2 separate regions of the Homo sapiens genome follow, and region 2 is linked to region 1. The links are contacts of gene promoters, found by promoter capture Hi-C in blood cells and fetal thymus (Javierre and others, 2016). All regions are on one chromosome and are shown on one strand. The core of a region is centred on a gene start or on the middle of the fragment in contact, and the rest is flanking DNA. Distances in the headings are between cores, read along the strand shown. Region 1 holds the start of RPS25 (ribosomal protein S25). Region 2 holds the start of APOA5 (apolipoprotein A5).

Region 1 (3,469 bases), core at 33-2,532:
ACTAAAAATACAAAAATTAGCTGGTCGTGGTGGCACGCGCCTGTAATCCCAGCTACTCGGGAGGCTGAGGCAGGAGAATCGCTTGAACCTGGGAGGCAGAGGCTGCAGTGAGCCGAGATCCCGCCACTGCGCTCCAGCCTGGGTAACTCCGCGGCCCCTCCCCACCCAGCAAAAAAAGATGACACCACTGCCGTTATTACCTAAAATCTAGATCTGGATCGGTTGCGTTTTTCATAACACCAGAACGACGATTTAAGAAAAGGTAGACAAATTACAAGCGCTGCCGTTCAGGAGACGGGGGACTTACGAGTGGAACATGGAGGCCAGCATAAGCTTCTCATTAGAAGTGAGGCGGGGCCGGCCAAATCGAATGGACACCGGGTAATTAGCAGGGTTACCCAGATACTCCAGCACCTCTTTCCCGTCGGCCGTGTACCTGCCATTCACGTCCATGCCATTGATGGCCAGCACTGCATGACCCACTGCAGAGGTGAAGCTAACGGTCAGCGAAGGTGCAGCCCGGGGATTCCGCCGAGGGGACAAGGGACCCGACACAACCCCTTTTCCCCCAACCCCGCACCTACAACCAGCCCACTTCTACAGCACTGGGGCCCTCCCACCCCCGCACCCGCCACGGGCCCGAGCCTAGCCCACCTCGGATGCCGTCCCGCTGGCCGAAAGCAACCAACACACGCTCATCGTGTAGCTTGAGCAGCAGATCCAGCGGATAACTGAAAGTTTTCTCAGCCTCAGCCCGTGGCGCGTAGCTGTCCAACTGGTAAATCAAGCCGCCAGCTTTGTTCACCACATACACACTAAAAATCGCCATCGCTGCCTTGCCGCTCGGAAACTGGTATTCAGCCTCTACCCGACGGCCCCTCCCCGGAACCGCATCACAGCACTTGCCGCCGGCCCCACCCCAGCCTCCTCCTCCTCCTCCTCCTCCTCCCGCGCCCCCCGTGCAGCCACCTGCTGCACTTGCGCACTGGGAGCGACACGCTCGGGCATAAGTAGTGCCGGAAAGTTAGCTGCCGAGACCTGGTGGATTGCTTTTCGTTTATCAGTGCAGGAAAACAGCGCTATAGTATGCGTCACAACTAGCGCAGACTCCGGCAGTATTTAGGCGGTGCGGCTTGGGAACTAGAATCCACTTCCTGTCTTCCGCCTCAGGCTAGAGGGCGAGCGCTTCGCCGTGGGACTTCTTCTGCCTGGCTCCGCCTTTTGCCCCGGAAGTACTCACAGCGGACGGTGGTTTTTGGGCCCGTTTCTGAGCAGCGCTTCCTTTTTGTCCGACATCTTGACGAGGCTGCGGTGTCTGCTGCTATTCTCCGAGCTTCGCAATGGTAAGCTTCAGGGGTGTGAAGTCGCCGGCGTTCTTGGGTTTGAGGACTCAGTGGGGAGAGCCTTCGGCGGGAGCGCTCCTTGGCCTGCCGGCCTCGGTTGCAGGGCGGGCGCGGTTATTGCTTGGCCCATGTGCTCTGGTGGTGGAGTTTGCGGGGGCTGAGGGCGCAGTATTAGGGGACTTTGGCGCTATTTGAGGACCTGGTTGCATTCCCGCTGCCCTCCTACAGCCGCCTAAGGACGACAAGAAGAAGAAGGACGCTGGAAAGTCGGCCAAGAAAGACAAAGACCCAGTGAACAAATCCGGGGGCAAGGCCAAAAAGAAGGTAGAAATAAGACCTCTCTGAAAGAGACTAGGGGTAACTCTCTCGTAATCCTCTAGTAATAGGTAACTTGTATAGTAAGTGGTTTTTCAGGTGTAGATTTCTAGAGTCAAAATGTGAGAGTTTATCTTCCCGTCACCACTCGTTCTTTTTCCCATTAGGATCATGAAAATGGGTCTGTTGTGCGAAGTGTCTGCCGCTGTGCCTGCTGTGTTATTTTTAACTGATCTAGTGGGGCTCGGCCCCTGTTTGAAGGCCAAAAACGTGTCGGTGTTTTTTTTTTGTTTTTGTTTTAGTAATGTGTAATTTATCCTTGATAACGGTGGAACAGATTTCTCTGACGCAGATTACTCGAGAGGGAAAGGGTGCTTCTGCCAGAAATACTAACTTGTTTCTGTTTTGTTTTGGTGAGCAGAAGTGGTCCAAAGGCAAAGTTCGGGACAAGCTCAATAACTTAGTCTTGTTTGACAAAGCTACCTATGATAAACTCTGTAAGGAAGTTCCCAACTATAAACTTATAACCCCAGCTGTGGTCTCTGAGAGACTGAAGATTCGAGGCTCCCTGGCCAGGGCAGCCCTTCAGGAGCTCCTTAGTAAAGGTGAGGGGTGTATCCTACATGTGTGTTTTTGTAGGTTAAATTGTCTTGACCATGTTAAGCATCTTCAGTGGTTTTGCTGGAAAAGCAGAATTAAAAAAAAAAAGCGTGGCTTGACCATTGGCTGTTAGTAATGTAATTCTGACGTCTTACTCCTGATCCTGAGATGAATTCTCAGGGTTCTTAGCCACTTTTGTGCCGTGGACCCTGTGGCAGTTTAGTGAAGCCCAAGGATCTTTTATGTTTCGAGTAAATGGATGCATAGAATTACAGGGACAACCGTTTTTGAAATAATTAGATTACTATTTTGAAACAACTTTGAAAATGTTTAAAACCTTTATGGTAAATATTTTGTTGATGTATTAAATTTTAAAACCAGAAATTTAGTACGGTCTACTCAGTAGTATGGTCTGATTACCATAATTCCACAATAATAAGGCTCAGCTAACTATAGTGACTGAACGTCTATAATTCTAGCACTTTGGGAGGCCAAGGCGGGTGAATCAACGGAGGTCAGGAGTTAAAGACCAGCCTGGCCAATATGGTGAAAACCTGCTCTACTGAAAGTTAGCTGGACGTGGGGGCACACGTCTGTAATCCCAGCTACTCAGGATGCTGAGGCATGAGGATCCCTTGAACCCAGGAGATGGAGGTGGCAGTGAGCCGAGATGACACCACTGCACTCCAGCCTTAGTGACAGCAAAAGACTGTCTCAGAAAGGGGGGGGGGGTGGAAGATAATGGAGCCCTAATTTAAAGGAAAAGTAAGGATAGATGATCGTTAAAAACTAGGATTCTCGGTTACCGAACGTCAGATTAAGCAATTCTGGAGCCAGGTGCAGTGGTACCCTTGTATTTCTAGCTACTTGGGAGGCCAAAGCAGGAGGATCATTTGAGCCAAGGAGTTTTAAGACCATTCTGGGCACCTCTGAGAGAACTCTGTCTTTTTGTTTTCCTTTTCTTTAAATAGAGATGCGGTTTTGCCATGTTGCCCAGGCTGGTCTCCTGGGCTCAAGAGATCCACCTGTCCAAAGTGCTGGGATTACAGGCATGAGCCTCTGCACCCGGCCAAAACAAACCTTACTAGAGTCTCATTCTGTTGCCCAGGTTGGAGTGCGGAGGGGCAGTCTTGGCTCAATGCAACCACCAATTCCTGGGTTCAGGTGGTCCTCACCTCAGCTTCCCAAGTAGCTGGAATTACAAGCATGTG
Region 2 (3,534 bases), core at 641-3,140, 2.2 Mb after region 1:
AGCTGGAACTTGGATATGAGCGTCTTGTTGATGATAATAGTGCAACAAGATAAAAGCAGCCCGAGCTGGCCTACATTTACATGAGAAGGAAATAAGACTCCATTTTGTTTAAGCTATTCTCTTGCATATATATATACACATATATATCAGCTAAGTGTAGCCATGTGACTAACTTGTGGCCAATGGGATGTCAGTATGAGTGGTAAGAGCAGTATCTTGTATATATATATGTGTATATATACACACACACATATATATACATATATGTATGCAAGAATATAAAATATACATGTGTGTGTGTATATATATACACACATATATATGTCCCTTGCAGCCAAGTCTAATTCTAACTAATACAAACTAACTCTAAAAAATGAATATATATTCACCAGGGGATAGGCTATTTCAAGCAGAGGGAAGCCTGTATAAAGGCTCAGGGAATGCCGTGGTTTTATGTGGCAGCAGATGAGACTGGAAATGAGTCAGGATGAGCCACAGTGGAGGATGAATTAAATGGGCAGGAGTGTGGTAGAAAGACCTGTTGGAGGCTATGAATGCAATCAAGGTGACAGACAACTGGTGCAATGATGGTAGTGGAAATGGAGGAGAGGGGATTGATTCAAGATGCATTTAGGACCAAGAATCGGGAGCTTGTGAACGTGTGTATGAGTACTGTAGACGGAGTGGGTGTGTCATCAGAGAAGATCTGAGCATTTGGGCTTGCTCTCCTCAGAGGCCCTGCGAGTGGAGTTCAGCTTTTCCTCATGGGGCAAATCTCACTTTCGCTCCAGTTCCTGGGGCTCAGAGTCCCTGGCCCAGATGCCTCTTGCCATCTCATCTTCACCCTGCCTGGCTTCCCTTGCTTGTTCCAGGATTGTTTCATAAAGAGGGATGTGGTTGGTCTTTAACCCTATGAATGCTGGCTGAGGATGCCTGCGGAACCTGTAGTGAAGCTTTCAGGGGCTGCTCGGGTTCTGGCTGGTAGGTGAACACTGTCCATCTTGCCGGCTGGGACACAGTGACTCTGGGTAGTTGTGTAAGAGAGGGGCCCTTGGCAGACAAACAGGTTCTTCTCTGTTGGTGGGCCAGCCAGCAGGTCAGTGGGAAGGTTAAAGGTCATGGGGTTTGGGAGAAACTGGGTGAGGAGTTCAGCCCCATCCCCCGTAAAGCTCCTGGGAAGCACTTCTCTACTGGGGCAGCCCCTGATACCAGGGCACTCATTAACCCTCTGGGTGCCAGGGAAAGGGCAGGAGGTGAGTGCTGGGAGGCAGCTGAGGTCAACTTCTTTTGAACTTCCACGTGGTATTTACTCAGAGCAATTGGTGCCAGAGGCTCAGGGCCCTGGAGTATAAAGCAGAATGTCTGCTCTCTGTGCCCAGACGTGAGCAGGTGAGCAGCTGGGGCAGAGGGATGGGGGTCACAGTCCTAAGGGAGGGCATTGCAGGTGGCCTCAGGGGAGAGCCTGGGGTGGCCCCTAAGACGTCCTCTTGGAACATTTTGGCAGAGTTGCCTCTTCGCCCTCATTATGGCTCAGTTTTTCCACCATGAAATGGGAGGGAGGGAGACAGGTGGGCAGGGGAGAGGTGGTAGAAGTGGCCTAGAGAACTGTTCCTGGGGTCTGGGACCTTTGCGAAGGGGTTAGAGCACCACGCTCCCTGCTATGTGACTGAGGTAGCAAGAGCACGCCCTCTTCCCATGTCTGAGGAAGACACCCTAGCCTCCTTGACTCACCTAGGTCAGTCCTCTTGAGCCCCAACAGCTCTGTGCTCCCCAGCCCAAGGAAGGGGTAACAGGATTTCGGGCAGTTGCCCCTGCAGAGGCCCCCTGGGCAAGTCCCCTGCGCCATGTCCCTTCGTCTCCTTCTTCCCCTAACCAGGCCTCCCTCCACCTGTCTTCTCAGAGCAGGTAATGGCAAGCATGGCTGCCGTGCTCACCTGGGCTCTGGCTCTTCTTTCAGGTGGGTCTCCGACCCTGACTTCAACGTGGGGGTGTGGGTGGAGGCTGGCCAGAGGGCCCTGTCCACCCTGGGGGAGGAGAGCCCAGGCCCTGATTACCTAGTCCCTCTCCACAGCGTTTTCGGCCACCCAGGCACGGAAAGGCTTCTGGGACTACTTCAGCCAGACCAGCGGGGACAAAGGCAGGGTGGAGCAGATCCATCAGCAGAAGATGGCTCGCGAGCCCGCGTGAGTGCCCAGGGGAAGGGGTGTAGGCGAAGGGAGGAGACAGCTGGGCCATGCCATGATGACCTGCCTCTGCTGCCTCAACCTCTGTGGCCGCTGCTGGGACAGAGGAAAGGAGCGGTGCTAGCTCTGTCTGCAGATCCCGGCCATCCTGGGCTCTTTAGCGCCCTCTGCCTGCAGCCCCCGCCTTGACAACTCCGTAGCTGTTGCCCCCTTGCTCACTGAGGCGCGGGACCTGGGATCAATCGGGAGGACGCCCGCTGCAGTCCCCAGAATCAAAGGATGATGTGGCGCATCTATGTTTCTTTGGAGAGTGTTGTAGGTCTGGATTTGTATGGGCAATGTGTTTGTGCTTCGTGCGTGAGTTGTTACTGGCCAGGGCTAGGACAAGAGCCCTCGACCCTGGGGCCAACGCCCTGCGTCCTTGGTTCCCCCAGAGGATCAGTGCGCGATGACTTGGGGACAAAGGAGATGATGGAGGCTAGCAGTCTGACGGCCTGGATATCTGTCCCCTTCTCCAGGACCCTGAAAGACAGCCTTGAGCAAGACCTCAACAATATGAACAAGTTCCTGGAAAAGCTGAGGCCTCTGAGTGGGAGCGAGGCTCCTCGGCTCCCACAGGACCCGGTGGGCATGCGGCGGCAGCTGCAGGAGGAGTTGGAGGAGGTGAAGGCTCGCCTCCAGCCCTACATGGCAGAGGCGCACGAGCTGGTGGGCTGGAATTTGGAGGGCTTGCGGCAGCAACTGAAGCCCTACACGATGGATCTGATGGAGCAGGTGGCCCTGCGCGTGCAGGAGCTGCAGGAGCAGTTGCGCGTGGTGGGGGAAGACACCAAGGCCCAGTTGCTGGGGGGCGTGGACGAGGCTTGGGCTTTGCTGCAGGGACTGCAGAGCCGCGTGGTGCACCACACCGGCCGCTTCAAAGAGCTCTTCCACCCATACGCCGAGAGCCTGGTGAGCGGCATCGGGCGCCACGTGCAGGAGCTGCACCGCAGTGTGGCTCCGCACGCCCCCGCCAGCCCCGCGCGCCTCAGTCGCTGCGTGCAGGTGCTCTCCCGGAAGCTCACGCTCAAGGCCAAGGCCCTGCACGCACGCATCCAGCAGAACCTGGACCAGCTGCGCGAAGAGCTCAGCAGAGCCTTTGCAGGCACTGGGACTGAGGAAGGGGCCGGCCCGGACCCCCAGATGCTCTCCGAGGAGGTGCGCCAGCGACTTCAGGCTTTCCGCCAGGACACCTACCTGCAGATAGCTGCCTTCACTCGCGCCATCGACCAGGAGACTGAGGAGGTCCAGCAGCAGCTGGCGCCACCTCCACCAGGCCACAGTGCCTTCGCCCCAGAGTTTCAACAAACAG

The links. The method cuts DNA at HindIII sites, captures the fragments that hold promoters and counts their contacts. A CHiCAGO score of 5 or more calls a contact.
Region 2: the fragment with the promoter of APOA5 here is called in contact with the fragment with the promoter of RPS25 in region 1 in 1 of 17 cell types (monocytes); the score reaches 7.1 in monocytes.

What each region holds. Positions count from the first base shown.
Region 1 is chr11:119,016,156-119,019,624 of GRCh38, reverse strand. RPS25 (ribosomal protein S25) reads left to right here and starts at 1,282. Exons shown (of 5, transcript NM_001028.3): 1 at 1,282-1,343; 2 at 1,572-1,667; 3 at 2,080-2,263. The coding sequence starts at 1,341. It overlaps TRAPPC4 (trafficking protein particle complex subunit 4), which reads right to left and starts at 859. Exons shown (of 5, transcript NM_016146.6): 1 at 655-859; 2 at 308-482. The coding sequence starts at 829. RefSeq lists enhancers at 288-986, 1,241-1,470, 1,491-1,560 and a silencer at 881-1,000. The HindIII fragment of the contact is 1,015 bases long and covers 336-1,350 here.
Region 2 is chr11:116,790,235-116,793,768 of GRCh38, reverse strand. APOA5 (apolipoprotein A5) reads left to right here and starts at 1,890. Exons shown (of 3, transcript NM_001371904.1): 1 at 1,890-1,957; 2 at 2,072-2,183; 3 at 2,702-3,534. The coding sequence starts at 1,909. The HindIII fragment of the contact is 6,000 bases long and covers 956-3,534 here.